Linked DNA regions of Homo sapiens: region 2 is linked to region 1. Evidence: promoter capture Hi-C in 16 types of primary human blood cells and fetal thymus (Javierre and others, 2016). All regions are on one chromosome and are shown on one strand. Each heading gives the region's core, a stretch centred on a gene start or on the middle of the fragment in contact. The rest is flanking DNA. Distances are from core to core; before and after follow the strand shown. Region 1 holds the start of CACNA2D1 (calcium voltage-gated channel auxiliary subunit alpha2delta 1). Region 2 overlaps CACNA2D1 (calcium voltage-gated channel auxiliary subunit alpha2delta 1).

Region 1 (4,914 bases), core at 1,208-3,707:
TGTTAAGATTACCTACAGGAGATTGACTTCGCTCCACAAAACCTTTTATTAAGTATTTCATTCATTAAATAATCAATGTCTTATATAATTTGAAAATATCTTGAATTTTCATCGTTAAAAAAAATTTCAGATCCTTCCAAAGAAAAGAAATTGTGATGTCCTACTTCCCATTTTAACCCACTATATATACTCTTTCTTGTGTCTAGTAAATTTCTGACCATGAAAATTGATTTACTTATAATTTTAGGAAAGCATTATTGCAGATGTTCTTCTTAACAATAAGGATTTTTACATTAATATTTTACCACAGTATGTTGAGGAATAAAAGGTTGTATTTTGTTGTAGTTTTCCCCAATGGTATGATGATGTATCCCCTCCCATGATAAAAATATTGATAAATTGTCAGTTAAAAACAACACTGTAAAAATGAGTAATCGGAACACATTTAGGAAGTGATTGTTTTTTAAAGAGCCACTTATTTATTTGACACAGAATGCAAGCGACTCATTTGAGTTCTCACTTTACAGGCCAAGCAACAAACAGACTTAAAAAATTAAATGGAAGTGTGATGCCTTAATAAGAGTAAATAATTCTGAAGCATCCTTAGGGTGATTCTTACTCTTTTTATGTTTAAAAATATCTGACTGGAACATCCTGCCAATTAAACGAAGATCTCCAGATGGCATTTACCCTTTTGCTTCATAACAAAAAGGATCTGCAATCAGTTTTATGGAAGATTATCTAAAGAGGAACATTACTGTAACTCAATGACAACAAAAATTAGACACTCCCCTTCTCCGGGATAGAATGTGCATCCTCCAGATTCTTGCACTGACACCTAAGGTAATAAATACTTAAAACTGAATCTTAAATAATAGCCGCAGGATTTCAACCGCTAAAGATTCACTGTTACTTTCCACCAAAAACTCCTGTATTCAGCACTCAGCCAACAAAGGACAGCAAGTAATTCCCAGCAGCATAAATACCGGGAAAGCTACCTTGGGCTTTGTTTTTGTTATGTAAAATGCATTAAAGTGACTCATCCACTTAAGATTACCTACCTTTAGAAGCTTTAAAGAAGCTCCAAGAACCAAAATAAATGCTTTCCCAGAATGCCGGATAGGCTATTCGGTGCATTAAAAAATATGTATATATTTATATGTGCCATTGAGTTTGATTCTATTTTGCTAAGAAAGGAGAGAATTATTATTTTTCATTCCCTTCCTGTGGTGTGACTATAGCTACCTATAAGCCCTCTATTTCCAGAACAGCAGCGAGGTTTTTAAAAGTTATTTTAGAAATGGTAAAAATAAAAGAAAATTTGTAGGAGACTGGAAATAGTCCCTCCTTCAAAGAATAGGCTCTATTCATTTGAAGAACAGGGACCGCGTGTCTGCCGACACTTAGATGTTTCAAATAATGGGTTGGGGAGGTTGGATCGCGTGGTCCCAGTACCTGCGAGCCCCCTGCGTGGACAGCACGCTCGGCCGCGGGGAGCCAGCACGCGTCTAATCGGAAGGCTGTCAAGTGCATCCAGTAACGTGGGATAAAACGAGTTTGGGCACTACAGCAATTAAAGAGCATCTCCGAGGCCAAGTGCGGGGGAAGTCCACGCTACCTCGGCAAGCCTGAAATTACCTGTTTGTAAATTACCCAACCAAAACATAACTTTTTATTGAACTGGGTTGAATCAGAGCGGGTGAGCTGGCTGGAAACTTTTTTCCCCAGTACGGCTGCACTCTGAAGTCTAGAGAATCCCGTTAGAGACGGGCTGAGACGCCGCGAGTCGTCGGCGGGCGCTTCCCGGGACAGTCGGCCCCCAGTGCCCGGCCCCGTGGAGGCGCCCGAGACGCCGGTTCGGGACGCATTCCAGCGGCGAGCGGCGCGCACCGCCTGCCCGGCGTCTCCGCATCCGAGCCTGGCTCCCCGGCCGCTCGCTCCCCACCCCCACGGGCGGAAAAGCCCCGCGACTCGGGAACCGACCCCCACCCCCAACTCCCGCGGCGCCCCTCGGCCGGCGCTCCCTGCCCGGCCCGCCGACTTACGTGACGGCCGAAGGGAACGGCTCCTCCGACGAGGGGCCGATGAGCAAAGATTGGAAAAGTGTCAGAGTCAAGGCCAGCAGGCAGCCAGCAGCCATCTTCGCGATCGAAGATCAATGCCCCCTCCCTGCCCAAGCGGGGGAAGGAGCGGCGCTGGAAACCGCGGGCGGAGGAAGAGCAGCACACGCCGCCGGGACCGCGGGCGTCTGGAGGGCTGGCTGCGCCCGGGGCCCGAGGCGCGGAGCCGCGCGGGGGACGGCAAGGGCGGGAGCGGACGCCGAGGAAGGGGCGGTGGCGGGCGGACCCACTAGCGTGCGTCGGCTGCTCCGCGCCGCGGCCGCCTTGCCTCCGCCGCCATCAAGGGCGACTTTGGAAACAGACCTCGGCGAGCCCGCCGGCGCTCGCGCGCTCTCGCTCTCCCTCTCGGTTTCCTCCCTGATTTATTCCCCCGATTGCCGAGGCGAAGGCGGAGGCGGGGGCGGGGGCGGAGGAGGGGTGACGGCGCTGGAGGGTGGGGGTGGCTGCAGGAATCGGGGAATGGCAGGCAGAGAGACTTGTGGAAGCGAGAGGCTCCGTCTGGCTTCTTAGGCAAGTCAGAGGGAGGCGGCTGGGGGTGGGCAGCGGGAGGGCTGGGCGTCAGAGCAGTCGGGCGGAGACGGGCCGGGAGCAGCCCTCCATACAAGGCAGCCAGGAACTCCCAAAGTCGGCGCCGGCTCGCTCCCGCCGCCCGGCGTGCGCAGGCGGAGCGGACCAGCCCCGCGGGGCTCCCGGGGGACGGCCAGCCGCCCAGCGGGCATCCACAGGCTGCAGAGGCTCCAACCCAGGACTTGGCTCGCGTCTTCGGGGGTTATTTTTGCACATGCAGGCAGCGTTCCCCCCCAGCCCTACTCCCAGGCGCAGAATCCAGTGCCTGCCTGGGAATCGTGAAGTGATTTGACAACAAATGTAGGAGGGGTTTGTATTGCATTTTAAAGCACCACTGTTGACTCTCTACCAGGTGGCACTATATGCCCGCGTGTGCCATAGGTTAGAGCCTCTGCCGGGGCTGGGTGCCCTTTGTGCCAGCGGTCCCACGCCCAGGTACTGCTCGGCTCACCTGGCGAGGACAGAGCCTCAGGGACCGGGCTGTGGACGGACAGAGAAGTACTGACGCTGTAAAATCTTCCCAGCCCTGTGGTTCCATTGGACAGAGGGGTGGAGGGACGAATTCTGCATCTAGGGAGGACAGTAGTAAGAGAAGCGCTTTGCAGCATCCCAGTTGGGACTACCTCCAAAAGGGTCCTAACGCCCTGCTCTGGCCACTGGCCTGCCCTGCCTGACAAGGTTACCGCAGGGTGAGCTCACTTTTGTCAATGCGAAGGCATGAAAAGGGTAAGCAGCAGGAACAGGTGGCACTCTGAGAAATGCGCCTGAAATGTAGAGGAGGAATTAAGGGAGGGGGAGAGAGCTAGGGAGTAGCAATGCCGGACTGGTTTTATCTCCAGACTCAGAGGAAGCAGTGGCGGGCTTTCTCCTTGAAAAGACAGGGTCTGCGACTAGGCCTCTCCCGCCCAACACAGGCCTCCTACAAGAGGGCCCTGGTGGGCCAAAGATAGAAATATATTCTTGCACACCTTAAATTCTTAAGCTCCCTCTAGTAGTGTATGAGAATACTTTTGACATGACGTGCAGAGAATACAATTTGTGATGACTATCCTGCATATGCAAAAATTCTGTAAGTATCGGGGTGGCTGTCAGATTTTTAATTAGCCCGTTCTTATTTTTAGGAGATGCTTCTGAAAGAAAAAGACCCTTATTAATTCGAAATGAATTTTCCAGCTCTCTGAAGGCAATCTCCCAAAACAAAGACTAATAATAATACTACTACTATTAATTACTGGCCAAATTTTAAGAGCGTGTGTGATTTTATGATGCTTAGCCTGGTGAATTTATTTTTCCTTCCCACTTATTTCTCCTTTTTTTAATGCCTTATTTGTTTTCTTTATGTTCTTCGCATCTCTGTCTTGCTCTTTGTTTCTTTCTACTCTGAGTGGCCTCACAAAAGGCACCCCACCGTGACTTAACTTAGTTTGTTTTATGCTAGGCATGGATACTGTGGCAGCAGGAGCTGCGCAAATGAGGGATGAAGTGGGATGTAATGGGATTGAGAACTACAGCTCAGGAGGGATATTTTATATAACTGAAGATAGCATTCCACTCCAAAATTAGATAAGTAAATAGTCAAATCCATCATTTCTTCCATTTTTAATAATTCAAAAGCAGACTTTCTTCCCCAGCATGAGGACTAAGAAGAGCAGAATTAGAGATGCCCATTATTGTCTATGTGATATGTTGGTATCAATAGCCTCACTACCTAAAAATACCATTGTTATATATTCTGTCAATTATTTCAACATCAACTCCAGACTTCCCACTATGGTACACTGTTTCCAATTTTATATCTTTAGGAGAAAGGGCTTAAAGAATAAAAGAATGTAATAAGCTTGTAGAGAAGGTAAGTCAGCCTTTATTATTAACTTTGTTGGCCTTTGAGCCAAATCTCAATTTCTTTGGATCACTCTGTTGAAGCACTGAGTTCTCCAATATGTGAAGCTGTTGAGGAAAGATATTGCTTCTACAATTCTTACTGAAAGGGTTGGTTATCATCTGTGAGCCTAAATCATTGTTTAATACTCTGTTGCGAGGTTTGCTATTAATTGCTTTTTACCAATCTAAACCTTCTTATTGAGGATATTCAAAATGTGGTTTTTTTTTAAATGTATGACAGCTAAAAGAAGACCATTTCCATAACATAGCATTAGGTTTCTGTTGGATTAACTATACCCATAACAATGCATTTTTTCAGCTCAGTTCTGTTATTTTGGAAAATTCC
Region 2 (4,914 bases), core at 1,272-3,771, 190 kb before region 1:
CGCCTCTAATCCCAGCACTTTGGGAGGCCGAGGCGGGCGGATCATGAGGTCAGAAGATCGAGACCATCCTGGCTAATACGGTGAAACCCTGTCTCTACTAAAAATACAAAAAATTAGCTGGGCGTGGTGGCAGGCATCTGTAGTCCCAGCTACTCAGGAGGCTGAGGCAGGAGAATGGCGTAACCTGGAAAGCGGAGTTTGCAGTGAGCTGAGATCGCGCCACTGCACTCCAGCCTGGGTGACAGAGTGAGACTCCATCTCAAAAAAAAAAAAAAATGCCCTCTTAAAATTCAACATAGATGTTTTCCCAAGGTGTCATGGGAGCACAAAGGAGGAGCACCATACTCAGTAGATGTAACCGGGGTAAAAGACACTAGGAAATACTTCAAAGAGACAGTTACTCTAGAGTTGAGTCTTAAGGAATAAATGTTGGCTAGGCATTCAAGGAATATAATTAGTCAAAGGATTCTGGGTACATGGACTTGTAGAAAAAAAGACTTAGGATAAAATAAAAAGCACACAATAATCCGGGAATGGAATTCTTTGCAGGATCATTTGGCTTGGTTAAAAAGCAAATGTAGGGAACAAACAAAATGAGGCTGAAAAGGTGTTCCAGAACCAGATTATGAAAGATCATTTTGACTGGCTAAAGAAAGACATTTCCTTGGTTCTTAACTTCTTCATATGTTAGCATTATCTTTAACACATCATGTTCAGCATTGCTAACCTCATAGTTACAAAATGGTTGGAAATAAACCTGAAATCATCCTTTTCATCCGTCCAGTGGGAGAATAAGGGTCATATTCTCACAACCATCAAACAATAATACTGAACCCACCTATTAAAATACCCTTGATGTGATCTCTATAATCATGCACGCATGTTGTGCTGATTGGCTTAGACAGATTTTATCTCAGTCCTGAACCAATCAGAACCTATCCCTGAAGCTGGGCCTAGGATCAATCCTACATAATCCTATCTACATTTTATGACAGTTACAGTATGAGAGTTTTGAGAAGGGGGGAAATAGGAAAATGATTGGTGAGTAGGTGTCTTAGTCCATTTTCTGCTGCTATATTAGAAAACCATGGACTGGGTAATTTATAAAGAACAGAAGTTTATTTGGCACACAGTTTTGGAGACTGTCAAGTCCCAGAGCATGGTGCTAGCACCAGCGAGGGTCTTCCCATGGTGAAGGCAGAAGCAAGCAAGTAAACAGAGAGAGGCACCAGTGGCAGGATTTGTAATAACCCACTCCCATGATAACTAACCCATTCCTGAGACATTGACATTAATCCATTCATGAGGTCTCCACCCTCATTGCCCAATCACCTCTTATTAGGCTCCACCTCCCAACAGTGCTACATTGGGAATTAAGTTTCAAACATAAGAACTTTTGGGGAATACATTCAAACCACAGTAGTAAGTAATGGGCAAAACTGTCTCTACTGCTCTTCTGCAATTCTCCTGCATTTTAAGGAAGCTTTATAATACTACGTGGAGAGAGAAAAGCATAATCCTATAAAAATAAATTCTCATTGTAGGAAAGCATTTTTGTTTCTTAAATAACATATAAAATCTTATATAATTTCCTGTGGATATATCCTGAAATATCCTTTTAACTTCATCACATAAGTAGGTACATACAGGCAATTCTTAGGGATCTGCACCTAGTGGCTTTAATTATCTTTTCTCTGAGGAGATTCACTATTCTAGTAGGAGTCTAAGCTTCTATTGTTATTGCTTAAGCAATAATTTTATGTGTTAGCTCTCAAATTTTAACAAATACCAACTTCTAACATCATAATATAGTAACTTTATTTTAATTTAATTTCTTACTTAGCATTTTGCTTTTAGTACATAGCATTCTTCCAAGAAATTAAATAATGGCCCTTTTGTCTGTTCTTCTTTTCTTGAAAAGATTTCACAAGAGTTCTGGTTTACTGGTAATTTCAAATACCTGTCACATGAAATAATTGCTTTCTATCACTAGCATTTTTCCCAGACTATCAGCAATCAAAAATCACTTACAGTTTGCCACAAGAATATCTCAGGACTTGATTTGTATCATTTTTAATAACCTTTTCCCATATATTTTCAAAAATTAGAGAGTCTGTTGTACATATTTATCTATTTATTTGAATAAATAAAGCCAAAAACTATAAGAAGCAGTCATATGACACATAACAAGTCAGATATCTGTATCTGTATTCAAAAATCTTCTTTAAGCAAGGGAACATAATAATGAATGCTGTTCTCATACTCTCCTGTATCTCCCATCTCTCAACGCCATGATGTAATAAGAAGTTACTGAACAGTATTAAAGCCAGAAATCACCTGCTTCTGCCACTTGTATAATTTCCACATTTTTAAAAAGCCTGTAAAATGATCAATTCACTACCACCTAAAATAGGTTGCTGCTGTGATATCTGAAAACAGAGATTTTAAATCCTGTACTAAGAACAATCACAAAAAGAGACACAAAACTATGTTTTGGGTACTGGAAATTATCTATATCTTGATAGTAATTTGTTATACATTGCTGTAGGCTTCTGTCGAAACTCACTGAATTTCAAACTTAAGATTTGTGCATTTCATTGTACATTCATGGTACCTCAAAGGAAATATTTACATACACACATATATAAAATAATTTAAGAGTACAATGTATTATCATTGTGCTGTGACAACTAGATCCTTGTAAAGCAATTACTCCACTGGTTATCTGCCCAAGGACAATATGGGTGTGAAAGGATTAAGCTGTAATGCTTTTTTCCGTTGCTTTTCTAGGTATGTAAGTGATTTGATGTTATTATGCCCTCTGTTCTTTTCATTTTCAGAGCCATACATTGAAAATCTTTTTCCAGCTTTGTGTATGCCATACATTAGATTCATTAGAATAACTCCCAATTAGAAAATATCAAGTAGTCCATTAGTGGTTACATAGCTTGGAAGGAGCAGGAGATAGGATGCAAATCTGGACCTATCTGATGACACATCCTTAGCTTCCCATGGGCAACCTTTAACATTTTTTGTCCATAAACAGTTATGAGTCGCAGAACTACAAGGGACATGCAAGATAAAAAGCCTAGTGATTATCACTTTATTTCTCTATGATATATGTACTTTGGAATACCCCAATCTGTGTCTTTCAAAATACAAGAGATTTCAATTTTTTATGTCATTTACTATATTTTATTTATTAGACAATATAACAATGATTGTTTTCCAAAAACATCCTACCCTATTCTTCTTGTTTTAAAATGAGAATGCGAGTATGCTTTGCAAGGGGCAAAATAGAAACTAAATTTCAGTAAGCTTCTTCCCTTTGCAACAATAATAATAATAAACATTTATTTGAGTGCTGATGATAGGCCAAGCATTTTGCAAACTGCTTGATGTAATCCTTACAACTATGCTCTGAGGTAGTTATGCTTATAGCACTCATTTTTCCAAAGTAAAGAGAGGTGAAGTTACTTGCCTTTCAGTAACAGCTAATGAGTAGTGGAGCCAATATTTGAAAACTGGCAGGCCTGTCTGGCCTTATCACAACTATACCATCCATACTCTCTTAATTAAACATGCATTGGCTCATTTATTAAGCATATATTTATTGAATGCCCGCTGCACTCATCAGTAGAGACTTAGAGTTCCTGACCTCAAGGAGTTACAAAAATAGTAGGTGTTACACTACTAGAAAATGTCACTGCCATTTGATAAGAACTATGCTATTTAAGCAAGAGGAGGAAACACTTGGCCGGGCGTGGTGGCTCACGCCTGTAATCCCAGCAGTTTGGGAGGCCAAGGCGGGCAGATCATGAGGTCAAGAGATCGAGACCATCTGGGCCAACATGGTGAAACCCTGTCTCTACTAAAAATACAAAAATTAGCTGGGCGTGGTGGTGCGTGCCTGTAGTCCCAGCTACTCAGGAAGCTGAGGCAGGAGAATTGCTTGAACCCGGGAGGCAGAGGTTGCAGTGAGCCAAGATCACGCCACTGCACTCCAGCCTGGGTGACAGAGTGAGAATTCGTCAGAAAAAAAAAAACAAACACTTAACCCAGACACAAATTGTGGTAGCTGGCAGGGTGGATTGAGGGAGAGATAAGAGAGGCTAAAACATACGAAGGTTCTGTGGAGAAAGCCCAATTTTAAAGAATGAGAAGTTAACCAGCTGAGGAATAAAATTAAGGGTGTCCAAAGGTCAGGGCACAAAGTGAACATTCAGGGAAATGGAAGTGTGAGTGGATTATAGAGAGGAATGGCTGGAGAAGAAGGGCTTATACTGGATTTGACTTTCAAAATAATTTGGATTTCATAACAAAGAGAATGAGAAACCATTACAGAATTTGGGATAGAAAAAGTGATAAGTTTTGAATCTGAAAAAGATGATTGGCAGTAGTATGGAAAATGAATCAAATCACAGGGCTGTGAGAATCTAAAGCAAGAAGACAGAAACACAGACCAGAAATGATAAGCGCATCATGTGAGGCAGGCATAGGGCCATGGCCAGACTTCTACATTTTACTGAAAAGGAGATCCATGAAGAGAGAAAGGAACTTTGTAATTAAGGTATTGTCATACTGCATGTATCACACAATGTTCAAGAACTTTCATCAAGGGCATGATGAGAAAAACTGGCTCTGGAAGATGGTTTCAGGTTACAAGGAAATCTAAAAGATACCAATAAATATTTTGATACACAAAAGTAAGATAAACTAAAAGAATCTGAGAAGTCTTGAGATACCGGCATACAAAATAAATGAACATTAATGTTAATGATCTTTCATGTTAAATTCTTATATAACTTTTTGTTTAATAAATGTCATGGTCCTATATAATGTGTTTTTATGATATTACATGATTTTTACACTAGAAATAATGTATATATGGTCTTTATTCTCCAGAAACTTGCA

The links. Contacts are between HindIII fragments. The CHiCAGO score rates a contact against its expected background, and 5 or more counts as called.
Region 2: a fragment that was not itself captured here is called in contact with the fragment with the promoter of CACNA2D1 in region 1 in 1 of 17 cell types (endothelial precursors); the score reaches 5.4 in endothelial precursors.

Annotation. Positions count from the first base shown.
Region 1 is chr7:82,441,320-82,446,233 of GRCh38, forward strand. It overlaps CACNA2D1 (calcium voltage-gated channel auxiliary subunit alpha2delta 1), which reads right to left and starts at 2,458. Exons shown (of 39, transcript NM_000722.4): 1 at 2,046-2,458. The coding sequence starts at 2,140. RefSeq lists an enhancer at 900-1,463. The HindIII fragment of the contact is 3,454 bases long and covers 1,069-4,522 here.
Region 2 is chr7:82,248,855-82,253,768 of GRCh38, forward strand. All of the region lies in intron 3 of CACNA2D1 (calcium voltage-gated channel auxiliary subunit alpha2delta 1), which reads right to left. Among named protein-coding and RNA genes, the nearest start is that of CACNA2D1, 190 kb to the right of the region's middle. The HindIII fragment of the contact is 1,590 bases long and covers 1,727-3,316 here.